Regions from separate parts of the Homo sapiens genome. Here all the other regions are linked to region 3. The links are contacts of gene promoters, found by promoter capture Hi-C in human tissues and cell types (Jung and others, 2019). All regions are on one chromosome and are shown on one strand. The core of a region is centred on a gene start or on the middle of the fragment in contact, and the rest is flanking DNA. Distances in the headings are between cores, read along the strand shown. Region 1 has its middle 150 kb from the start of MVB12B. Region 2 overlaps MAPKAP1 (MAPK associated protein 1). Region 3 holds the start of PBX3 (PBX homeobox 3).

What was found. Contacts are between HindIII fragments. The study calls those that stand out against the background at their distance.
Region 1: a contact is called between a fragment that was not itself captured here and the fragment with the promoter of PBX3 in region 3, in 1 of the 25 tissues and cell types used here (lymphoblastoid cells).
Region 2: a contact is called between a fragment that was not itself captured here and the fragment with the promoter of PBX3 in region 3, in 1 of the 25 tissues and cell types used here (mesendoderm cells).

Annotation. Positions count from the first base shown.
Region 1 is chr9:126,178,184-126,182,294 of GRCh38, reverse strand. No RefSeq gene overlaps it. Among named protein-coding and RNA genes, the nearest start is that of MVB12B, 150 kb to the left of the region's middle. The HindIII fragment of the contact is 3,220 bases long and covers 779-3,998 here.
Region 2 is chr9:125,449,561-125,453,439 of GRCh38, reverse strand. The region is part of intron 10 of MAPKAP1 (MAPK associated protein 1); the gene reads left to right. Among named protein-coding and RNA genes, the nearest start is that of GAPVD1, 190 kb to the right of the region's middle. The HindIII fragment of the contact is 3,861 bases long and covers 1-3,825 here.
Region 3 is chr9:125,744,797-125,748,778 of GRCh38, reverse strand. PBX3 (PBX homeobox 3) reads right to left here and starts at 1,406. Exons shown (of 9, transcript NM_006195.6): 1 at 1,126-1,406; 2 at 156-229. The coding sequence starts at 1,325. It overlaps PBX3-DT (PBX3 divergent transcript), which reads left to right and starts at 2,850. Exons shown (of 2, transcript NR_122032.1): 1 at 2,850-3,363. RefSeq lists silencers at 432-771, 1,042-1,571, 1,582-1,631, 1,882-2,311. The HindIII fragment of the contact is 5,465 bases long and covers 1-3,982 here.

The DNA of each region.
Region 1 (4,111 bases), core at 1,139-3,638, 430 kb before region 3:
TCTCGGCCAGAAATATGAAGAAAGAATCAGTTCTTTGATACAAAGAAGAGATTTCCAGCTATCAGGAGAGACAAGAGAGGAACAGAAGTTTTAGGGGCCAGAGTGGAAGGGGCTAGTCCTCACTGATGGTGAGGGGACAGAGTGAGTCCAGAGGAGACAGTCCTATGGGGCAACATGAGGTTTGCCACACTCCATGCATGATCCAGAAATGGGCAAAGGTAGGGGTAGAAACCATAGAAACATGTAATTCTCCCTTTCCTTCCATAGCCCATGGAGTGACAGCTCAAAAATGATTCAGAGATATAGAAAGATAAAGACAGTTTTGTTTACTGCAGACCACAGTTTTCTAGCTAATATTCATACTTACAAGTAGATAATATTTTAACGTGAGGCTTTAGGAGGTAAAAGATACTAGTAAAGGGGTTGGGAGGGGGGCGGGTACGTGCAGTCATTCCAGGAAAAAGGATCAGCATGGACAAAGGTTCTGAAGAGAGAAGACATGTAGCTGAACAATGGAAAGAAGGCTGGGCATCCAGTGCACAGAAAGCAAAGGAAAGGGGGTGCAAAGAAACAAGAGCATATGGCTCACACATAGGGAGAAAAGCAATTAAGAGAAACTAAACTGCCCTTGCAGAAGCTCAGACTTGGACTTTCTAGATCCAGGCTTTGAACAAGCTATTTTAGATATCACCAAAGAGCTAAAGGAAACCAGGCAAATAATGTCTCTCCAAACTGAAAATACCAATAAAAAGACAGGAATTTAAAAAAGGCACCAAACAGAAATTCTGGAGTTAAAAAGTACAATAACTGTAATAAAAAATTAAATAGAGGGATCATACCATTTTCGAACAGGCAGAAGGAAGAATCATCAAATTTGAAGATAGGTCCATTGAAGTTATTCAGTCTGAGGAACTGAAAGAAAAAATAATGAAGATAAATGAACAGAACCCAAGAGATCTGTGGGACACCATCAGACATATCAACATATGCATAATAGGAATCCTAGAAGAGGAGAGAGAAAGGGGAATAAAGGACCTTTGAAGAAATAATGGTAATACACTTCCCAAATTTGATGAAAAACATGAATTTACACATTTAAGAAAATCAAAATATCCAAGTAGATAAACTTAAAGAGATCCACACAGACTGTCCAAACGAACTGTTCAAGCCAAAGACAGAGAGAGAATCCTGAAAGCGGCAAGAGAGAAGTGACTAGTCACATACAAGGGACCCTCAATAATATTAATAGCCAGTTTCTCATCGGAAACCATGGAGGTTAGAAAGAAATAGGATGCAATATTTAAAGTTCTGAGAGAAAAAAACTCTTAATCAAAAATTCTGTATTCAGCAAAATTATACTGCAAAAATGAAGGAGAAATCAAGACATCCCAAGATTTAAAACAAACAAACAAACGAACAAACAAACAAAAAAGCTGAGAGAGTTCATTGCTGGTAGACCTACCCTACAAGAAATATTAACAGGAGTCCTTTAAGCTGAAATGAAAGGACACTAGACAGTAACCCAAAGCTATACAAAGAAATTAAGAAAACTGGTAAAGACATAGATTTACATAGGTAAATATAAAAGCCAGTACCATTGTTTTTTTCTCTGTAACTTCATTTTTCTATAAGATTTAGAAGACAAATGCATTAAATAATAATTATAAATGATTTGTTATGGCCATTATAAATCTTTGTTGATGGGCAAACATTGAAGAAAGATATAATTCATGACAACTACAACATAAAGCAAGGAGATGAAGCTATATTGGAGCAAAGTTTTTACATAATATTGAGAGAAAGTTGATATTAATCCAAGCCAGATTGTTATAAATTACCATGTCAATTATAACGCCCAGGACGAACACTTAGAAAATAATTCAAAAATATACATTAAAAGAAATGACAAGGGAATTAAAATGGTACTTTAGAACATCTCTATCCAACATAAAATAAAGCTGTAATGGCACAAAATGACAGAAGCAAGTGATTCCTTATCAGTAATTACATGAAATGTAAATGGATTAAACCCTCCAATTGAACAGCACAATGGCTGAAAAAAATGACCCAATTATGTGTCATGTATAGGAGATTCACTTTAGATTAAAAGATACAAATATATTGAAAGTAGAAGGATGCAAAAAGATATTCTATACAAAAAGTAACCAGAGCTGGAGTGACTATACTAATATGAGACAAAATAGACTTTGAGACAAAAATTCTTACAACACAAAGAAGGACGTTATACAATGATAAAAGGTCCAATCCATCAAAAAGGTATTGCAATTATAAACATATATGCATCTAACAACAGAGCCCCAAAATACATAAAGCAAATCAGTATCTGCTTCAGAACTGAAGGGAGAAAATAGATAGTTCACTAGTGGCAGCTGGAAACTTCAATATTTCACTGCCAATAATGTATGCAACAACTAGACAGAAGTTCAGCAAGCAAATAGGGGACCTGAACAACATTATAAGCCAACTAGGTTTAACAGACATCCATGGAACACTCCATCCAACAATAGCAGAATACACATTCTTATCAAGTACCCATGGAACATTCTCCAGGATAAACCATGTTAGGCCACAAAACAAGTTTTAATATATTTAAAATATATAAATCATACAAAGTATCTTCTTTAACCACATGGAATGAAATTACTAACCAATAATAGAATGAAATTTGGAAAATTCACAAATATGTAGAAATTAAACTACATAGTCCTAAATAAACAAGGGGCCAAAGAAGTAATCACAAGCAAAATCAGAAAACACTTTGAAATAAATGAGAATAAACATACAACATACCAAAGTTTAGGGGATGCAGTAAAAGTAATACTCAGAGGTACATTTATAGCTGCAAACACCTACATTTAAAAAGAAGAAAGACATGAAATTAATAAAATAAGCTTATGCTTTAAGAAAAGAAAAAGAAGAGCAAATTAAGCCAAAGCAAGCAGAATGAGAAAAATATTACAGCAGAGGTAAATAAAATAGAGAATAGAAAAACAATAGAGAAAATCAGAAGTTAGTCCTTTGAACAGATCAACAAAATTGGCAAATTCTTAGCTAGATTAGTCAAGAAAAAAAGAGAGAAGACTCCAGTTATTAAAACCAGGAATGAAGTGGGATATCATTACTGACCTTGTAGAAATAAAAAGGATTATAAGAGAATACTATGAACAGCTGTATGCCAACAAATTGGATAATCTAGATGAAACAGACAAATACCTAAAAACACAGAAACTATCAAAATTAACTGAATATGAACTAGAAACCTAAGCAAACCTATGAGAATAAAAGAGATTAAATCAGTAACCAGAAGACTTCTAACAAAGTCCAGGACCAGATGATGGCTTCCCTAATGAATTCTACCAAATGTTTAAAGAGGAATTAACACCAATATTTCTCAAACTTTTCCAAAAAACAGAAAAGAAGCAAACACTTTATAGCTTATCACATGAGATCACTATTACCCTGATCCTAAAGCTAGACAAAGACAACACAAGAAAACCACAGACCAATATCCTTTATGAATATAGATATAAAAATCCTTAATAAAATATTAGCAAATTGAATCCAGCAGCATATTACAAGGATTGTACATCATAACACCAAGTGAGGTTTATCCCTGTAATGCAAGGGTGGTTCAACATGCAAAAATTAATCAACATAATACACCACATTAGCAAGAATGAAAGACCCTATATGATCATCTCAATAGATTAAAAAAAAATTTAGTGAAATCCAACACCCTTGCATGATAAAAGCACTCAACAACCTAGGAACAGAAGAAAAATTTCTCAACCTGATAAACAGCATTTATGAAAATCACACAACTAACAGCATGCTTAATGGAGAAAAACTGAAACTGCTCTCTCTAAGATCAGGAACAAGAAAGGATGTCCACTCTCACTACTTCTATTCAGCATTGTAGTGGAGGTTCTAGCCAGGGCAATTAGTCAAGAAAGAGAAGTAAAAGGCATCCAGATTAGAAGGAAGAAGTAAAACTATCCTATTTGTAAATGGCAGGTTCTTATATGTAAAACACCCTAAATAATTCTCAAACAAACCAAAAAACTTAAACCAAAACTTAGAACTTAACCAA
Region 2 (3,879 bases), core at 646-3,145, 300 kb after region 3:
AATGCAGAATCAGATTGGATAATCCAGCTGTTTTCTGTTCAACCAAATGTTAAAGAGATTTCAAAACATAAAATAGGCTGGTACGGAGGCTCACGCCTGTAATCCCAACACTTTGAGAGGCCGAGGCAGATAGATCATCTGAGGTCAGGAGTACGAGACCAGCCTTGCCAGCATGGCGAAACTCCATCTCTATTGTCTCTACTAAAAATACAAAAATTAGCCAGGCCTGGTGTTGCACCCCTGTAGCCCAGCTACTCAGAAGGCTGAGGCAGGAGAATTGCTTGAACCCAGGAGGTGGAGGTTGCAGTGAGTCAAGATCATGCCACTGCACTCTAGCCTGGGCAACAGAGTGAGACTCTGTCTCAGAAAAATAAATAAATAAATAAATAATGCCACTCTTATTTAACTTTGGGGAGATATAAGGGTTTTTCCATTTTAAAATATGTTAATTTGTAATGGGTGTATTATTTTAGTGAGTTAATATATATTTTTTAATTTCTCAGTTTTAATTTCATTTATTTTCTTTTTTTGTTTGTTTGTTTGTTTTTGAGACAGAGTCCCGCTGTGTTACCCACGCTGGAGTACAGTGGCCAGTGACATGATTCCGCCTTACTGCAACCTCCACTTCCCAGGTTCAAAATTCTCGTGCCTCAGCCTCCCAGCCCAGCCTCAGGCACACACCACCACACCCGGCTAGTTTTTGTATTTTTAGTAGAGACAGGGTTTCTCCATGTTGGCCAGGCTGGTCTCAAACTCCTGGCCTCCCAAAGTGCTGGGATTACAGGCGTGAGCCACCACACCTGGCCGAATTTCTAACACAATAAATGTTGATAGGTATAATCCACATAAGCTTTTTGGACTCCTCAATAGTGTTTAAGAGTATTAAGGGCTTCTGAGACCAAAAAGTTTGAGAACTGCTGATCTGGGGTCTTGAAAATCATCTTATGAAGCTTGGACTTTATTCTGAGGATGACAGGAAAAGAAGCACTGCAGAGTTTTAAGTAGGGGGTCCAGATGGTATGTTTTAAAAGAATGACTCCTGGCCAGGCGTAGTGGCTCACGCCTGTCATCCCAGCACTTTGAGAGGCCGAGGTATGCAGATCACTTGAGGCCAGGAGTTCGAGACTAGCCTAGCCAACATGGCAAAACCCCATCTCCACAAAAATTTCAAAAATTAGCTCGGCGTGGTGGCGCACGCCTGTAATCCCAGCTACTTGGGAGGCTGAGGTGGGAGGATCACTCAAACTCAGGAGACAGAGATTGCAGTGAGCCCAGATCGCAGCACTGCACTCCAGCTGAGTGACAGAGGAAGACTCTGTCTCAAAAAAACGGGCTGGTGCGGTGGCTCATGCCTGTAATCCCAGCACTTCAGGAGGCCAAGGCGGGCAGATCACCCAAGGTCAGGAGTTCAAGACCAGCCTGACCAACATGGCGAAACCCCGTCTCTACTAAAAATACAAAAATTAGCCTGGCGTGGTGGCAGGCGCCTGTAATCCCAGCTACTCTGGAGGCTGAGGCAGGAGAATGGCTTGAACTTGGGAGGCGGAGGTTGCAGTGAGCTGAGATCGCGCCACTGCGCTCCACCCTGGGGGATAGAGCGAGACTCTGCCTCAAAAAAAAAAAAAAAAAAACTCCTGTGAGTAGATGTTTGAATCTGCAGAAGACATGATCAAAAGAAGGAAAACCAGAGAAAAAGCAATAGATGATCAGGACCTGGGTGAGGGCTGTGGTCCCAGGATAGAGAGGGACGGAAGATAAACGTGAAAACTAGGAGACCAAATGCCCAGTACTTGGTGCGTGGTGAAGCCTCCAGTTGTGCCACCACAACTGCCAATTTAAGGGGAGATGCTGATGTCTGTTCTGGACATGCTGCACTGGGGGCCATGTGGAGGTGGCAGCCATACCCACTGCTCAGCTCTGAAACTCTGGAGAAAGGTATAGGCCACATAGCTGCTTCAGGATCACCAACATGTGAGTAGTAACTAAAACCCAAGGGCAAACCCGACACAGGAAAAACGTAGTTAGAGGAGGTGCTGATCAAGGATAGAACTCAGGAAGACCATTGCTTAAGGGACAGGTGGAGGTCCAGAAGATCACAAAGGAAATGTGAGAAACAGATGACTGGAGACGTGGACCCAAGAATCAGGTGACCGTGCCTCCAGGGAAGCCAGGACTTTAAGAAGTGTCGAAAACAGCTGAGAAATCTCTACTGGATCTCTCGACATTGAGGGCATAGTGACCTTAGCAAGAATGTTTTCGATACATGAGAGGAAGGAGGGAAATCACATTGCCATGGGAGTTTTTATAATTAGAGATTTAATTATGTTTACAGGAAGGAGCCAAAGAGAGAGAGAGAGGGAGTTTGAGAATCCAGGCAGAAATGTAAGTAGGTCAGGCACATCCCCGGCTCTAGAGGTCAAAGAGGTCATTACTATGGTTGCCCAGGCCGCTGCCCACGCAGGAGTGCTTGGGAAGGAGCACTCCCTTTTGCCAGTTGAATTACCTTGAGCTGAAGCTCCCTGCAGGCAGCCCAGAACTGTTGCTTACGGTGGAGAGGAGACCCAACCAGGAGGGAGTTTTCAGCCCAGAGACCAAAGAACCCCAGTCCAGCATTTCCTACTAGGACCTACAGAAAGATACAGCTTTGCCTAAAACAATGTGTGTTCCCATCGGTTTCCCCCAAGAAATCCAGTGAGAATGTTCCCCTCTCAGGCCAGAGGGCCCAGAAGACATCAGACCTTGGAAACTGAGTTTTCAAAAAGTATCCATGCCTGATGTAAAGGAATTGAGAAAGAATCCCAAGCCTCAAAGCTGTTCTTTGTAGCCTTATTTATAGTACTGGCAATTTTATAAGTAACCCAGAAGCCCAACAGAGATAGCAACATGACCCATAGCTCACGTCTACTGGTTGGAATAAGATGCAGCCATTGAAAACGGTGGTTATAGAAATTGTTGCAACAGGGAAAGGGGTATGGTAAAATGTTAACTTAAAAAAACTAAGCTCAACTTCTAGTATACAATCTGATTACAACTGTGAAAACAGGCGAGAATGGTTAGGAAAGAGACCGTGAATGGCATTGTGCTAGTGTTGGGATTTTGGGGTGGGGTGTGGAGGTTCTCCTCTGTCTTCTAAATTTCTAGTATTTTTAATAAGGAAAAGAAACAGGTTTATTTTTATATTTTTGGCAAGTGGTGACACCTGGGGGTTTAGGCAAAGGTGGGCTGCAGGCTCATTCTGGCAGCTCCAGCTCTGACCAGTCATGGCCAGCCACAGTCAGTACTGGCAGGTTGTGTTAGAAGAGACCCTCCCTTGAGACTTTTCTTAAGGCAGATGGAAAGTAAAAAAAATGATAGCCGGGCATGGTGGGGGGTACCTGTAATACCAGCTACTCAGGAGGCTGAGGCAGGAGAATCGCTTGAACCCAGCAGGCAGAGGTTGCAGTGAGCCGAGATGTCACCACTGCACTCCAGCCTGGGTGACAGAGTGAGACTCCATCTCAAAAAAAAAAGAGCAAAAATTGAAAATCAAAAAAAGACCCTTCTTTCAGTTGATTTGCAGTGGAAGTCTGGGAGCACCTCTTTTAGCAGGGTTGTGAGTGCTGTTCATGTATGTTTAAGCCATCCCATCTCATGACCACAGCAGCCTTTCCAACATGGCCACGCCCCCTGAACTGGCAGGAAGAACCTGTTTTTTCAGCACAGCCTCCTGTTTTAGTTAGAATCCATAATACAGAAGATGAATTAAAGCACAAAAGCTGGACGTCTCCACTTCTGACATTTGTGCCACTAATTAGTTTCTGCTTGGTATTAAATTCTATCTTCTCTGTCTTACTTTGAAAAACTTACATAAGTGTAAATACAGTTCTACATATCCAGATT
Region 3 (3,982 bases), core at 157-2,656:
ATTGCAGTTTTTTCTCAAGATCAGGACGTGGGAAGGAGAGAATGATCAAAGATGGCGGTGCCCAAAAGCAGCAGCTCTCAACTGGAGAGTCGAAGGAGTAGCTCCGACCCCCACCTCGGGGGTCTCCAGGCCCACTGCGGGGCGCAGCGTCTTACCTGTTTTCTCTTTGATCTCACACAGGACGCTGAAGAGCGCTGGTTTCATTCTGTGACAGTTCAGGGCATGTTTCCTAAAAAACAAATAACGAAACACAAAGGTATTAGCATCACCTATGGAATAATATGGCGCCTTCCTTTAAGTTAGACCCAAGATTTAATTCCAGCCCCCCATTCTGGAAGGCCCTTTTGAACCGTGGGAAGTCAACAAAAACTCCAGTTGACTAGTTCCCGACAGCCAGCAAGCCCCGGCGGCGAAAGCTGCAGCCGGAACAAGGCGGACCCATCTGCCCGGCAGGCAGCAGCCTCGGCCACTGCAGACGCGACGCGAACCCGCGCGGGGAGCCTCGCCCCGGGGGCAGGCGAAGGCGACCCGGGGGAGGGGACGGGTGCGGAGGGGCTCCCGCGTCCGCTCCTGTGCAGAGGAGGCCGGCCGACTGCGGCCAGCGGGAGGGTGACAGCTCGGCAAAGTTTGCAAGGCGGCCCTCCCTCTCCGAGAACTTGGCCGTCCGCACCCGGACCCGCCAGGGAACCGCCCATCGCCCCGCGCCGGGCCCGGGTGGCCGCCCGCATCGCGAGGTCGTCCCGCGGCCGCGGGAGCCGGCGCCGGGACTCCCCGCCGGAGGAGAAAGTTACACTTCCCGGCGGCGCGGCCCGCACGGGGTCGGGGCGGGAGGTTTAAATCCCTGGGAGGGGGCCGGGCTGCGAGGGGCAGGACGGGGGAAAGGACGCCACGGAATCCGCGCCGCACCGAGTCCGTCCCGAGCCCCCCAGAGCAACTTTGCCGACTCCCGCCCGCTTCGGGGGGCGCGGGCAAGTCCCCCCGAGGCCGGGGCGGGCGGCCGGCTTTCGGAGAAAGTTCCCCGCCGGGGGCTGCGGCCCTAGCCCCGGGCGCCACCCCGGGCCTCGACTCGGCCGCGGGCCCGGCTCCCGCACACACACAAAAGATGCTTAATGAGACGACACCAACTTTGCTTGCGCCTCGTCCAAGCTCTGGTCGGTGATGGTCATGATCTGGTGGAGGATGTCGCCGATGTCCTGCTTCCTGCCGTCGCCGTCCGCCCCTTCGTGGCCGTGCGGGGGAGGCGGCAGGGCCATGCCCCCCTGCACCGAGTGGCCAGCCAGGTTCACCCCGGCCAGAGTCTGCAGCATCCTGGATTGATCGTCCATCCCGCCGCGCGCGGGCGGGAGCGGGCGGCGGCTGAGGCGAAGGCTGAGGCGGCGGCGGCGGCGGCGGCGACGAGGGAGGAGAAGAAAGAGGGGGAGGGGGAGGGGGAGGCGGCCGCGCGCTCCCCGCCCGCGCGGGGAGGGGGCGGCCCGGCCGGCAGGGCCCGCGGCTGAGGCGATGAGGACGGGCGCCCGGCTCCGGCTTCCGCCGCCGCCGAGGCTGAGGAGAAGCGGCGGGCGGAAGCGCCGGGCTCCGCGGCGGTGGCGGAGGCGGAGGCGGCGGCGCCCGCTGCCCTCACGCGGCCGCCGCGCCGCCTCCTCGCCGCCGCGCGCCCCGCCGGGCGGCCCCGCGCAACTTGCTCCTCAGCGCCCGCCGAGTTGCCGGGACGCCCGCCGCCCCCCGCGCCAGCCTGCGCACTGCCCTCCTCGGCCGCCGCCGCCGCCTCGGCCAGGCGGGATCCGAGCCCCGGCGGCCCCGGGGGAGGCAGCGGCGGCGGCGGCGGGCGGCGGCGGAGGAGGAGGCCTGCGGGCGGGCCGCGGGGAGCGAGGGGGGGCGGAGGAGGAAAGTTTGGGAGCGGGCGGGCAGAGGCGGCGGGGGCGCTGAGCCCGGAGGAGGGCCCCGGCGGGCCGCGCGCCGGGCGGACAGCCGATGGATAGGGCGGGAGAAGTCGCCGCCGCCGCCGCCGGAGCCGCGCACCCAGCCAGCAGCCGCCGCGGACCGGGCTGGAAGGCCGCTGGGCCGAGGGATTGACAGGCTGCCAGTGCCACTCACTCACTGCGGCCCCGCGCCGGGGGGAGGGACGGGGGCTGGCAAGGGCGGGGGAGCGCTCCTCAGACCCCGCCCCCGGGGCGGTGCGCGCGCTCATTGGGCTCTGCGCCTCCCGCCGCCGCCGCCGGCACCGCCCCCGGGGCCCGGCCCGTTCCCTCTGGCCTCTGATACTCCGCGCTCCGGAGTGTGCCGCCGGATCCTCGCTCCAACCTCGTCGCGTCCTAGCCCCCCGGGATAGACCGGGCCGGCCCACAAACGGTGTGCCCGCACCCCGACTCCTGCTCCATGCTTTTGGCAGTCATGGGAGCGGGGGGTTGTGTATGGGACAGTGGGCAACTCGCTGCAAAGCCAACCGTGTGCTCCCCCGCCGCGCCCGTGAGCTTCACGCCTCGGACAGCTCCTGGTGCACTTTCCCGCTCTTCCTGTCAGGAGGTGGTGCCCTCTGGGTACCAGGCCGCTCGTCCCGGGCCAATCGCAAAGCGCTTAGAGCCGAATGGGGCGGGACAGAGGCAAGAAAGGGTCGTCCCAATTGGAGCGTTCGAAAGGTTCTGGGCAGAGGCGGGGAAGCGGCGAGTGGGGGCCTCGCCCCGCCTGCGGTCGCCATGGTAACCGAGAGGGCGCAGCTCAGCGTTGGCGCCAGCACCGGGGTCTTGTGCTGTCCCTCAATGGGTGACCAGTTAAGGTGGGAACCTGTGGTCTCACATACTTGAAGTCTGAGCTGAGTGGACCTGACTGCCATAGACTTTCCATTGAAAGGGGAAATGTGTCAGAGAGAAGCGAGTCTGGGAGGAGGGAAAGTGCCTTCAGTCCAGGACTAATTTCAAGGTTTACAACACTTTACACACTCTGCAACTCCTGATAATCCAGGGACTACTCCTTTGGCAGCGTTTGCTATTCGATGCCTCCAGATGTACTGAAGCTGCAAAAACGAGCTCTTCATTACAAAGATACGTTTGTTTAGGAAGAGACTGGATTTCACTTGTCAACTTACCCCATCACCACGAGTCATTTAATGTTGGTAACGCCAGCCACGATTTTTCGTATCTATAACACCCCTTCTTCCATTGAATTCTACCTACAAATAACTGAAGGCTCACATTATTTTGGAATATGGACCTCCGCCTCTTGTGGAGACTTGAGATTGCTCTTAAGCTGATTTCCCAAACAGGGGCTGCAATGTGTGTTCCCGATTTTAGATTCATTGAGCTCACCCTAGATGAGTCCTTTGGTTCGGTGGTTCGGAAAAGTCTCTTTGTTCCTTCTCCAAACTCAGTAAGCTGTCTTACCTGAAACCAAAAATAGGGGTATGAGGATATGAAAAATGGCTCTTACTCTGCAGGGTTTAATGTAGGACAAGCAGTTCTTTAAATGCCAGATGGATTCTTGGAATGAAGCAGGCTACTCGGTTCCAGGTTCTTTCCTTCATATGTTGTGTGTACTTTTAAATACTCCCCACTGCAAAGCTAATAGCTAAGCTTACAGTTAGGCAAGCTAAAATCCTTACAAACTGCACAGCTGCTGAGGAGGGAGTTCCAAAAAATCCACTCTGCTTACTTACCTCCAAAGAAGAACCCCCTTCATGTTCATTAATATTCTCTGCTCTTCTATACCCCATTGATATGTCAAGTTTCCAATTCTTCTTTGAAGCCCCCATTATGGGTTACTTATAATCGTCATTGATTGGGTTTTTTCTTTATTCTTAATTTGTTTTTTAAAGCTGTCACCAAATTCTTAAGCATTTTTGCCAAAAGGCGCAGGAGCAAGCGGTCAACCTTTCATAATTCTCCAACGCTGAGGATGCAAAACCACAGAATTCTAACTGAAAGATGCCTTAAATTCTAAGATTCCTTCCAGCTGTAAAATTCAATAATCCTGTGACTCACTATTAGGA